2 separate regions of the Homo sapiens genome follow, and region 2 is linked to region 1. Evidence: promoter capture Hi-C in human tissues and cell types (Jung and others, 2019). All regions are on one chromosome and are shown on one strand. Each heading gives the region's core, a stretch centred on a gene start or on the middle of the fragment in contact. The rest is flanking DNA. Distances are from core to core; before and after follow the strand shown.

Region 1 (6,415 bases), core at 1,820-4,319:
ATCATTGGAAGTTCTATTTGCTCCACATCCTCTGTCCACAGGCCATCTCTGCCTGTTTCATTTCAGCTGTCTGTCGGCCAGGCAGCAGTTCCACGCTGTGGTTTAAATTTGCATGTTTGTTGGTAATGAGGTCGAACACCTTTGTGTATGCTTGTTGCCCACTGATTTCTCATGTCTTCTGAAGAGTCTGAGCAAGTCTTTTTCTCATTGGTCTCTTGGGCTGTCTTCTTATTTGCACGTTCTAGAATGAGGCTCTGTGTCAGACAAGTGTACTGTGAATATTTTGTCTTTCTAGTTCTTTATTTTATAGTTGTTTATCAACTTCGTTTATGGTTAGTGGTTTTGTGACCTCGGTATCACTCTTTGCCCACTGCAAGCTCTGGAAGCTCTTCTCCAATGTTTACTTCTAGAAGATCATTGTCTTACTTTTGACATGCAGATCTAAAATCCATCTGGAATTGACTTTTTTTTGGTATAGGGTGTGAGGTAGTGTTTTGTTTTGTTTTGTCAGAATGAAACAGAACAAAAAAACAGAAAAGGACCCCCAGAAAGGAAATTTAACAAAGTATCAGCACTGGTTATCTTTGGATGGTAGAAAAATGAGTGATTCTCATTTTTCTTCCCTGGAGTTATGAATTTTTACTTTTTGGGAAAGTGTTATGATGCTCTCCTAGGGTGATGGTTTTGACAGACTTCACTCTAACATCACTTTTCTCGGCATTGTAACAAATCCATTCTGACCATTGGAAAAGAAATTGTCCACTTTTGTACGAGCCATCTGATGGGCCCACTCCCTCTGGCTGAGTCTGTTTTCCCAGTAGAGGAAGCTCTCATGGGCTTGAGTTCCAGACAGTCATTCACTAATTCTTAAGAGGAAAAAGAATACTTCTGTGGTGGACACAGAAGTAGTCCAATTTCAAATACTGGACTTTCAAATGAAGTTCAAAAGTTTCCTGTATCTGAATCTGTCCAAACGACACTTGGAAATTTTCAAAAACACATTTTTTAAGAATTAGTCCTTTCTGTTTTCTCTATTTGGTCCTGCTTCTCCCATGGGAATCTCTTGGTCAACGAAATTCTTCTCCAGCTCCTGCTGACTCTGTGCTCTCCCACTCTGTCCAGCTCTGTCTCGTTGTGATCTGTACTATGCCCCCAAACTCCCTTTTTTTTTTGCTTGTGAAAAAAGCCCTGGCTGATCTGTTATTCAATCTTGAAAACAAACAAAAATAAAAAATGAACCAGTCTCTGACTATAAGGCAAGATTGGAAGCGAGCGTGCTGAGTCCAGGAAATGCTTGCCCCATTCTGCAGTGGGCTCCGCCCTAACTCAGTGATCAAGCCAAAACCTCGAGCTGGGTTGGAAAAGTGGTGATGCAGCCAACTTAGCTTCTCAAAGATGCCTTCTGGCATAGGACTGTTTTCAGCTGGTTATTTTGAAATGCTTTGTAAGAACAATTTACATCAATAAATGAAACTTCATTTCTTTTCTTTTGTTTTTGTTTTTGGAGACAGGGTCTCACTCTGTCACCCAGGCTGGAGTGCAGTGGTGTGATTGCAGATGACTGCAGCTTGAATTCTTGGAGTCAATCAATACTCCCACCTCAGCCTCCCAAGTAGCTCGGGCTACAGGTATGCAACACCACGCCTGGCTAATGTTTGTATTTTTTGTAGAGATGGGCTCTCACTATGTTGCCCAGGCTGGTCTCCAACTCCTGAACTCAAGTGATCTGCCTGCCTCAGCCTCTCAAAGTGCTGGGATTACAGGAGTGAGCCACCGCCCAGCTGAAACCTCCATTTAAAGGGCATCTCTGTCTTTGCATTGGGAAAAGAAGGGGAACGAAGTCACTAGAAACTCTTACACTGGAGGCAGTGTTGGCTTGACTCTCCATAGCAAGCCTTACCTTTGTTTAGGTGTTTTTCTGTCCACCTTATCTTAACTGGGCCTTTTGGTTTTTCAAGGATGAAGTACTTTATTACTCACAGCAATATCAGTAGCCAGAATGTTGGCATTTTTTTCTAACAGAGTATCAGCATACTTTTCACACCAGTTTCCGAGCCCCGTTTCCCAAACAGTGACACAGAGTGGGCCCAGTGGCATCTGCACACACCGTGGACTGCACTGCAGGAGAGGAACCCTGAGCTCAGGGAACGTGAATCTTTTATAATGGACAGTAAGCATGCCTGCTCTTTGCTTTGGAGGGAGAAAACGTCTTTACCTTCAGGATTAGGGTGTAAGCAACCTGCCCTTTGATCTGGAAGGACATATTATCAAGGCTGTCACAAAACAACACCCTTGGAAAGATGGTCTAGAACAATCAGTGCCTCTGTCCATGAGATGAGCAGGAATGTCAGAGACAGAGAGTTGGGTCCCAGCCTCATCCAGTCCTCATTGCAAATCGTCTTGGCCACTGACACGTTTTCTTGTGAGTGTGCCACTTGATATGGTTTGGAGGTTTTGTCTCCTCCAAATCTCATGTGAAAATGTGTTTCACAGTGTTGCAGGTGGGCCCCGGGGGGAGGTATTGGATCACGGGGTGGATGTCTCATGAATAGCCTAGAGCCATCTTCTTGGCAATGAGCACGTTCTCACTCAGTTCCCATGAGAGCTGGTTGTTTAAAGGAGCCTGGCTCCTCTGCCCACTCTGTCCCTTGCTCCTGTTCTTGCCATGGGATGTGCCTGCTTCCATGGCCACTTTCTGCAATGACTATCACTTCCCAAGGCTTCCCCAGAAGCAGACACTGGGGCCATGCTTGTGTAGCCTACAAAACCGTGAGCCAAATAAACCTCTTTTCTTTATAAATTACCCAACCCCAGGTATTTCTTTATAGCAGTGCAAACAGCCTAACACACCTGTCCATCAGCCACTCTCATTACTCCCACTGACAGAGGCGATCTTTCCTTCATGGACCTTCTTGCTGTTTGTTTTACTGTTTTGCACCAAGCACACATGGGTGTGTTTGTGACATCATCCCTCTGCCCCTGACCTCCCCATTTAAGCGTTTGTAATTAAATTGCACCCACCTGGATAAGCCAGAGTTACCTCTTTATTTTCATGTCAACTGAGTAGAAACCTTAATTAATTGGCAACATTAATACCCCCTTGCTATGGAATATGATGTATTCATGGGTTCTGGGGTTTAGGATTTGCACATCTTTTGGGGGCCATGATTCTGCCTTCTACATAGATCACATCAGACAAAAAGCATCAAAGCTGTTCAAGACTTGACAACGCAGTCACCAGCTATTAGATCCACATAGAGCGGGTGGCAGGCAGAGAATACACTTCTACTCAAGCAGACGTGGAAGACTTACAAAAAGAGACCATTGGATTAGGTCATAAAAGATGCCTCAGTAAACCCCAAAGGATCCGTGTCATGGAGATTATGAATTCGTACCATGATGCAAAACATTTGGAAATGAATATTCAAAGGATACCTGAGAGAATCTCATGTGTTTGGATATTTAATAACATTTTACTAGTAACCTTTGGGTAAGTAGAACTCTTGAGGGAATGAAAAACCTCTTTAGAATTGAATAATAATGATAATACCGTATGTCAAAAGTCACAGGACACAGTTAAGAGTACCTAGAAATATACAGTCATAAATACATTTTCAATAGGACGGGCGTGGGGGCTCACACTTGTAATCCCAGGTGACTACAGGAGGCCGAGGTGGAGGATCGCTTGAGCCTAGGAATTGCAGACCAACCCGGGCAACAAAGCAAGACCCTGCTTCTACAATAAATGAAAAAATAAATTAGCTGGGTGTGGTGGTGCACGCTTGTAGAGAGTAAAAGTTTTCCTCTTCAAATTTCCCCTTCTTGTTAAAGAATACATCATAAGTGTTAGAAATAATAGTTTCTTTTAAAGACTTTCTTCAATTCTCCTTGCTTTGTGCTAATAACTCTTTGTTAAGCCCTATCCCATGTAATTGTTGGACATGCTCACAGACACGTTCCAGCTCACAGCCTATGCCCCTTCCTTATTTGGAAATGTTATTGCTTCCTTAGACCTTTCCTAATTACCTATTTAGGAAAGTTTCAGGTTATTAGCAAATCAGGTATCAGTTTAAGACTGTGAGGCCCAGCTCCAGCCAATGGATGCAGGACACAACAGTAAGGACGACCCAAATGCTTAAGGGTTAATTATGTCTGCCTTTCCTTTGCTTAGGTGACCTCTCGCGATCATTCCATCTGTGACTGAGCACCCTTTCTGCAGAAAGTAAAGATGGCCTTGCTGAGAGATCTTTTGTGTCTGTGCTGACTTTTCTTCGCGGCACCGATTATCTATTTCGAACAATTTTGGTATTTCTAACAGCACTTGTAGTCCCAGCTACTTAAGAGGCTGAGGTGGGAGGGTTGCTTGAGTCTAGGAGTTTGAGGCTTCAGTGAGCTATGACAGCACCACTGCACTCCAGCCTGGGGAACAGAGCAAGACCTTCTTTCAAAAAAAAAAAAAAAAGAAAAAAGAAAAGAAATAGAACTAATCATACAAATGAAATAATTGGAAAAAACAGCAATGTAACAAAATGATCCCAAAGTAATAAGAAAAAGGGAAATGACAAAGATACTGGCAGAAATCAATGAAATAGAGAAAAATAAAATAATATGAGTAGCAAAAACCAAGGATCATACTTTGAAAAGATATATTGATTTTGACAATATTGAGCAAAAAAAGAGGAAAATATAAATAAAAATAGAGACTGAAAATACAGAAATAACTGCAGACAGAGGGATCAAAGAAATCACAAGAACGTTATGAGCAGCTGCATTCAGAAAGTTTGAATTCCCAGATCGTTTCAAGAAAAAACAAAATGCCAGAGCTGACCCCGGAAGAGGCCAGCGCGCGCCTGCCCCAGGCTTCCCAGGTAGACTCTGCCAAACTCAAGGAACTGCTCAAGCTTAACTTAGACAAACTGGCTCAAGCCAGAACTTAGAGAAGGGGCAAAAGGCTGGTATAAGCCAATTCCAAAACCAGCTAAAGATAATCCGAGCTTTTGCCTGCTCAGCTGCTGGGTGCTGTTCCCAGACCAAACCGAGGGTGGGGCTGCTTGTTCTCTCGGCCCAGTAACGAGACGCAGATGAACTGGGAGAGGAGTGAGTTAACCGGTTACAGGGAGAAGGCCTGGAAATTATCGCCAGACCAACGTTTTCCAGAGCTTGTGTGCCTTCTAAGCTCTGTGTCTGCGTGTAAGTGTGCACTCATCCAAAGACATAAGTGATGAACTTCTCATCTATCACTAAGGCCTGAGTCCTGAAGACCTTCCTCTGGAGCCTCAGTGGATTTACTGAATCTAACTGGGTCCAGGTGCTGGGGTGATCACCCTTATCTTGCCCTCTGCTAAATCACGGAGGTTGAGGGAGCTCCTTTAGTTTCCAAGGAAGCTTGTTTGTGGAGGTCTGGGGAGTTTCTTCAGACCCCAGTAAAACTTGTTTAATCCTAAACAGGTCCTGTTAAGAATTCCTTCATTATCTTGTCATGCTTCAAGGCCCTGGAGAGGCCTGGGCAAAACTCTCAGGGGACGTCTTTTACAGTCCAGCCTTTGCATAAGGGCGCTGGCTCTATCAGCTTTTAATATTTATCCTCATCCCTCAGTCGGTGTGGAAACAGTTGTTCCCGGGGGCCTGCGTGAGTGAGACCTGGCCTGCCTCGGTACCATTCCCGGTGCGCTTGGCACAAAACAATGAAACAAATAGCAGGCCCGTGAAGGGAAATATCCTAAATAAAATATTAGCTTGCCAAACCCAACAGCGTATGCTTTTAAAACCACACGTGATCAAGCAACGCTTGTCTGTGAATGTGACGCACATGCATTGGGAGGTCTGTCGTGTAGCCCACCATAGTCACAGGCTAAACGGAGAAAAACATCTCGGCCAATGCAGAAAGCACATCCCACAAGGTTCAATACCCATTAGTGATACAAACTCTTAGCAAAGTAAGGACAGAGGGAAAGTTGCCTAATTTCAAGTTTTATTACTGGATGTCCTGGCTGTGGGATATGGCGAGGTTTCTCTTCAAATAGCCTGATCAATCTTTTAATTCAGAGTACCCCTCACACGGTTTTTTCCTTTTTCCTTTCTGCCTTTGTTAGATGCCCAGGCATGCCACAGTACCAGGCATTATCAGTACCAGCTCACATTCCTGTCCTTATTTGGAAAGAGGACTAACTTTCTAGCTCACTACAGACACCCCTTCCCCTTTCCTCTCTTTTACGTGCTCACCTTATCTAAAAAAATTCAAATGTTCAGCCAACCGGGATTAGATTGTACAACCCGACCCCGGCCGATGGGGAAAGGGCACGGGGGCAGGGGCAGGACTTGTGGCAGGAAGAAAGGCTCTCGTGCCCCTTTGTTCAGATGTACTCTCATGGCGACTGGCCAAGGAGGCACCCCTCTGCGCAGAAGTAAAACTGCT
Region 2 (6,415 bases), core at 2,870-5,369, 200 kb before region 1:
CAGGAGGGCACGTACCGTGCCACACAGGGCCGCCCGGGGCGGGGCGCCGTGGCAACAGGACGCAGAAGGCGAGAGGGGAGAGCATGGCCAGAGGCTCTGTGGGGGTTTCCCTGGGAAGAGAGGCCAGGGAGGGTAGGCACGAAGGAGCAAGTTTAGGATTGGACAGGTTAATTTCCCTGGGCTCCGGGCTATGGGGTGGTGTCTAGTTGACCACCGTCCTGCCCCAGGGTGATTGAGGGCAGAGGAACATGGGTTTGGTGAGTGAGTCAGATAAGGGGTGGTTGGGTTTACAGGCTCCAGGTGGGTTGGCTTGTGCCTTAAAGGGGAGCTCTGTTTGCAGGCACCTTTTGCTGTCTCTAGGAATTAGCCAGTCCTGGGAGGGCAGTCTCCACCTAGCCAGTAAGGCCCCCGAGAGGTCAAAGCATTGTAAACCAGAAAACAAAAACCATATGAGTTATACAGGAACAGTCTGGTGGGCAGGTGGCATTCAGCCCCTGTGCTCTGGGTCTCTAGAAGAATGGGGTTCTCAGCCTCTGGCCATGGGTCCCCCAAACAGCCTTAGTGTCTTCCAGGCTCTTGGGCTTGGCTTGGAGTGGCCCCTGGGGGCTTTGGCTGGGGCGGTGCCCATGGCTCACCCTCTGTCCATATAGTGGGGCCCAAGTTGTCCACTGTGCTGGGCTAGCCTGGGGGGGCCCTGTGGTCAGAAGCTAGACCCCCACCCTGGCAGTGCCACCCCCTAGGCCCCTAAGCTGCAGGTGCACGTGGAACTTTCTGGAGGGCTCCCGTGCAGAGAGGGTGAAGCCCATTCCTGCACTTTTTCTTACTGTACTATTAAAATGAGGAGAAATGGGAACAGGGTGAGGAGGGTGGCCCTGAAGTGGCTGGCGTGGCCATGTCTCCTGGGGCAGCACCCGGGCCCTGGGCACCAGCTCTTCCATCTGTAGACGGGAGGGCAGTGAGCTTCTAGGGGATGATTTCCACCTCCTGGGACGGAGGTGGGCACCGGCCCAAGTGAACTCGGATTCTCCTGCACACAGCTTCCGTATTCAGTCATTTACTTATGGGCCCACTATGTTTGTCTCATACTCTGGGTTAGAAAAGTGTATGGCCTGCCTGGCCCTGGAATCAGTAGCCCTGGGCCTGTCACTGGGGAGAGATGGTGGAAACCCTGGTGTGGGCATAGCTGAGATTCTTTCTCCTGTAAGTGGGGTCCCTTAGGGTCCCCGATTCAGGAGCTATTTACAGCACCTGCCAGCATTTCTAATGTCTCAGTGCTGCCCCTGAGAACCAGCGCCGGCGTCACAACCAGCCCCATTCCCCCTCGTGTTCTCAGCTGTAGCCAAGCCCTGGTCCAGCAGTAGCTGGGTAGGAAATGCATGCAGCTCCTGCCGGGGCCTCCCGCCCCAACCCTCTCTCCTGACAGGCGATTTGCTGGGCTGGAGGACAGGGCCAGGTCTTGGCCTTGGCACCGTCCTGGGTCACGAGTGTATGGTTCTGGTCACTCTGCTGTGGTGCGAGGATGAAGGTGCCAGCCCAGTGTGGGCAACCCTCACAGCCAGAATGTTCCAGTGCCCCGCACCTCGGGACCCTGGATGTGTGCGGCTGCCGTCACAAAGTACCGCAGACCCAGCAGCTTAAACCACAGAAATTTATTCTATCACAGTCCTGAAGGCCCAGAGTACAAGATCAAAGTGTCTGCAGATTCTGTTTGTCTGAGGTCTCTCTGCTTGGCTTGCAGGCGGCCGCCTCCCTGCTTTGTCCTCCTGGCCTTTTCTCTGAGTGCATCCCTGGTGTCTCTCCCTCTTCTCACCGCCCTGTCCATCTCCACATCCAATCCAGTCGGCGGTGCTGGGGGTAATCCAGTCTGCCATGCTGGAGGTCAGGCCTTCAGCAGATGGTTTCTCGAGGGAATGCAGTGCGGCCCTCAACAGACCCCATCCTCCCCTCCTGGCCTCCAGACATGGATCCCTGACTCCATCCTCCCCTTGAGGCTCCACAGAGCTCTGACCCCATCCTCCCCTCCTGGTCTCCCTCCAGACACAGATCCCTGACCCCATCCCCCACTCCCAGCCTCCAGACGTGGAGCCCTGGCTGGGGAACTCTGTGTGCTCCCAGCCTCTGAAGGTTTCTGGGCTTACCTGGCTCCTGTCTCATCCCAGTCCCCCTGAGTAGCCACGGAGGTGGGGTCCCTAAGGCCCACATGGTTGGGGTTCCATTAAGAACTTCAAGTGGGTGGCTCACGCCTGTAATCCCAGCACTTTGGGAGACCGAGGTGGGTGGATCATGAGGTCAAGAGATCGAGACCATCCTGGCCAACATGGTGAAACCCCATCTCTACTAAAAATACAAAAAATTAGCTGGGTGTGGTAGCGGGTGCCTGTAGTCCCAGCTACTCTGGAGGCTGAGGCAGGAGAATGGCGTGAACCCGGGAGGCAGAGCTTGCAGTGAGCCAAGATCGCACCACTGCACTCCAGCCTGGGCGACAGAGCGAGACCCTGTCTCAAAAAAAAAAAAAAAAAAAAAAAAGAACTTCAAGTGGGGCTGGGCTCAGTGGCTCACACTTGTAATTCCAGCACTTTGGGAGGCCGAGGCAGGAGGATCGCTTGAGCCCAGGAGTTTGAGACCAGCCTGGGCAACGTGGTGAGACCTCATGTGTATTTGTCTGATAAAGACATACGCAAGACTGGGTAATTTTTAAAGAAAAAGCAGTTTAATGGACTCAACAGTTCCACAATCATGGTGGAAGGTGAAAGAGGAGCAAAGTCACGTCTTACAAGAGGGTGTGTGCAGGGGAACTGCCCTTTATAAAACCATCGGATCTCGTGAGACCATTCACTATCACAAAAACAGCACCGGAAAAAGCCGCCCCCGTGATTCAGTGACCTCCCACCGGGTCCCTCCCATGACGTGGGAACTATGGGCTCTACAATTCAAGATGAGATTTAGGTGGGGACACAGCCAAACCATATCACCATGTCTACCAAAAATGGAAAAGTTAGCCAGTGTAGTGGTGTGTGCCTGTGGCCCAGATGCTCAGGAGGCTAAGGTGAAAGGACCTCTTGAGCCTGGGGACCAAGGCTGCAGGAAGCCATGATTGTGCCGCTGCACTCCAGCCTGGCTGACAGAGTGAGACTTTGTCTCAAAAAAAAAAAAAAGAGAAAATGATAAAAGCACTGCAAGTGGGCAGCGGCTGAACGTGGAGACAGGAGTTCTCCCTTCTGAGCACGGCCCTGGTGCCGCTGACTTCGTGGGGAGCCTGTAGTCAGGGGAGCAGCAGCTGGGGAGAGCTGGGGTCTCAGCTGCCTTCCCCCATATCGCACATGCCCGTCTCGTGTGTATCTGCACTCTCACACGCGTGTTCCCCTGCCCTGCGCTCACATGTATCTGCACTCACTCTCACATGCTTGCTTCCCCTGCCCCATGCTCACGTGTACCTGCACTCTCACACGTGTGCTCCCCTACCCCACACTCACATGTATCCTCGCTCACTCTCACACGTGTTCCCCTGTCCTGTGCTCACATGTATCCACGCTCTCACACATGTGCTCCCCTGCCTTGTGCTCACGTGTATCTGCACTCTCACGTGTTCCCCTGCCCTGCCCTCACGTGTATCCTCACTCACTCTCACACGCGTGCTCCCCTGCACTCTCCTGTCTGAGCTGAGCTGACCTCAGTTGGGTGCTGCGAGCCAGGGCCTCATGCTGGCCTCTCGCCCTCCACAGCCCCAGGGGTCCAGGCTCCTCCAGGAACAAACGCAGGCCCCACGGGCTGCCTGGAAGGCCTCCCAGAAGGCAGCACAGGGTCACGAGGGTCACCCGCAGTGGCACAGGGAGGCCTCGTCACGACAGGATTCCAGCCAGGCTGGCCTGATGCTCCTGGGGGTCCTCGGCACATGCCCCTTCACCCTGGCATGTGCTTCTTTTCCGGGAACCCACACTCTGGCTGAGTGGAGCCATCCCCTCTGGGTCAACAGCACCCGGGGTGGCTCTGCAGCACCCCACTCCGCGGCTGCACAGGGACCTTGGCCCCACTGCTCCTTGTGCCTTGCTGGTTAATGAGAAGCCGGTGGGGAGGTGCTGCCGGTGAGCGTATAAAGGCCCTGGCGGCGGCTGCGGAGCACTGGCCCTGTCCTTCCATCTGCCCAGAGAGGAGCATCTGGATCAAGGTGCTGGCCATGTCCCAGCTGGTGGAATGCGTCCCCAACTTTTCGGAGGGGAAGAACCAGGAGGTGAGGCCCGAGGAGCTGGTCAAGCATCTAGGGCTGATGGGGCAGCTTGAGTGGCTAAGGCCCAGGCCATGGAGGAGGTGGTGGGCTTGGTGTCCCGGGTCGTCTTCCCAGGATGGGCAGAGCCGCTGCCCGTGGGCCCCAAGGACATCCCGTGGCTCAGGGCCCTGGGGAGTGCCTGACCCAGGGGTGGGTGGAACACGACTGGTGCTTGTGGGGGCTGAGGCTTGGCTGTGGCTTCAGGGGCCTTTCGGGTGCTTTCGGTGGGGGGTTGGGCAGATCTCTGGGCCTCAAAGGGCCTTGGTGCTCCCCCCTGAAAATGGGGCTCCTGCCACTGACTGAAAGGGCTGTGTGAGGCCACACGAGGTGGCCCAGCATGGTCCCCACTGCCGCCTCTCCATCTCCACTGGAGTTAGCTTGCTGAGCCCCCACCCTGCAGCCACCATCCTCACTGGACCCAAAACGAAGTAGGCACAGAGGGGGCAGCAGGCCCCCAGGTCCGGCCTCTCGCCTTCCACAGCCCTGAGGTCCAGGCTCCTCCGGGAACAAACGCAGGCCCTAAGGGCCACCTGGAAGGCCTCCCAGAGCGCAGCACCAGGCCACAGGGGTCACCCGCAGGGGTGCAGGGAGGCCTCGTCATGCCGGGATTCCAGCCAGCACCAAGGCCCTGGGACAGGGCAAGATTTGGGGCTGAGCCCCTGCTCCCAGCAGTCCTGCCACCCGGAAGGTTCTAGGCCCTTCAGGCCCCTCCCCCATGCTGGTGATCTGTCCCTCCCCTGCTCGGGGGTGGGGGTCCCGGCCCCTCTGTGACCTGCGCCTGTGGTCACCTTCTTGGATCCCCGGCCACGTCTCTGGCATCTGTCTGTCGGAGCAGAGCCCGTGAGTCTCTCCTGGAGGCACCACCTGCAGCCCCTTGTGGGGACTGTGCTTGGGCTGGAGTGACTGTGGCTGCTGTGAGGGTTCCCGGGCGGCCGCTGTGTGCGGGCACTTTCGGTGGGAGCTCAGCTTGTCGGAGAGCCCCCAAAGGCTTGGCCCGCCTCCTCAGCCCCCATTTGTGTCTCGGGGTGCAGCCACCTCCAAGCTCCTTTTCCTTCTTTCAAACGGGGAGACTGAGGTGTGGGGGCCGGGCCTGTGTCCCAGGTGATCGACGCCATCTCTGGAGCCATCACACAGACCCCGGGCTGCGTGCTGCTGGATGTGGACGCAGGCCCTTCCACCAACCGCACCGTGTACACCTTCGTGGGGCCGCCGGAGTGCGTGGTGGAGGGGGCCCTCAACGCTGCCCGGGTAGCTTCCCGACTTATCGACATGAGCAGGCACCAAGGTGAGGTCTCTGGGCTCTCCTGTGGCTGCCGTGTCTCAGAATGTCAGGGCCGAGCCCTGTCCTGGTGTCCTGGGAGAGGGGGTAGGCCCGGGGCCCAGGCTTGGAACGTGGGGTCCAGTGGGGCTGGCTCTGGCTCTCCTAGGAGGACCCTGGAGTGTGGGGGTCATGGCCCCCATCCTGCCTGCAGGGCTGTGCTCTGGGGGACCCCCAGGTCGCCACGCTCCCACAGCACCGGGCCACCTTCACGGCTGGGTGGGGGGAGGGGGCCACGCCGGGGAAGGTTTGTGGGCCCCGTCCACCTGCCCACTCGTCAAGGGGGCTGAGAGCCAGTCTTGGAGCAGGCACTGGTGGGGGAAGGGCTGCCTGGAAGCTGACCTGTCAACAGCCCACAAGCCAAACACCTCGGTGGGCAGGCAGGGCCAAAGGTGTGTGGACACACGGGCGCTGGCCAGGGGCTGGGCTGTGGGCCGCTCATGAGAGGCCAGGGATCCACAGTGATCCTGAGGGGTGGATGGATGAGAAGCTTATCTCTAAGTGGCCAGCCCTGGGCGGTGGCGGCAAAGGCGGGGGAGGCTGGCGTCCCCTGGGGTGGGCGCCGACCCACGGCTTGGTGTAGCCACAGCGAGGGACTCAGCTAGTGAGAAGAATGCTCTGGAAACGCAGAGTGGATTCTCGGCTTCAGGGGAGGGGGTTGGGGTGGCCGGAACCCAGCCTCGAGCGCCCCCTCTTGGCCTGGCCGGGGCTGCCTGAGAGCTGAGCTTTGCACCCCTTTCAAAGTTATTTTTGTGAGTGTTAGGAGAGGGACAGGTTTATCCCAGAGATGCCAGACCACCCGCTCAGGTGCTGCTGCTCCTGGGCTGAAGGAC

What was found. Contacts are between HindIII fragments. The study calls those that stand out against the background at their distance.
Region 2: the fragment with the promoter of FTCD here is called in contact with a fragment that was not itself captured in region 1 in 2 of the 25 tissues and cell types used here (heart right ventricle and mesenchymal stem cells).

Annotation. Positions count from the first base shown.
Region 1 is chr21:45,953,086-45,959,500 of GRCh38, reverse strand. No RefSeq gene overlaps it. Among named protein-coding and RNA genes, the nearest start is that of COL6A1, 25 kb to the left of the region's middle. The HindIII fragment of the contact is 8,613 bases long and covers 1-6,415 here.
Region 2 is chr21:46,153,283-46,159,697 of GRCh38, reverse strand. FTCD (formimidoyltransferase cyclodeaminase) reads left to right here and starts at 4,119. Exons shown (of 14, transcript NM_206965.2): 1 at 4,119-4,228; 2 at 5,366-5,549. The coding sequence starts at 4,175. RefSeq lists enhancers at 4,346-5,049, 5,050-5,753, 5,754-6,415. The HindIII fragment of the contact is 26,017 bases long and covers 1-6,415 here.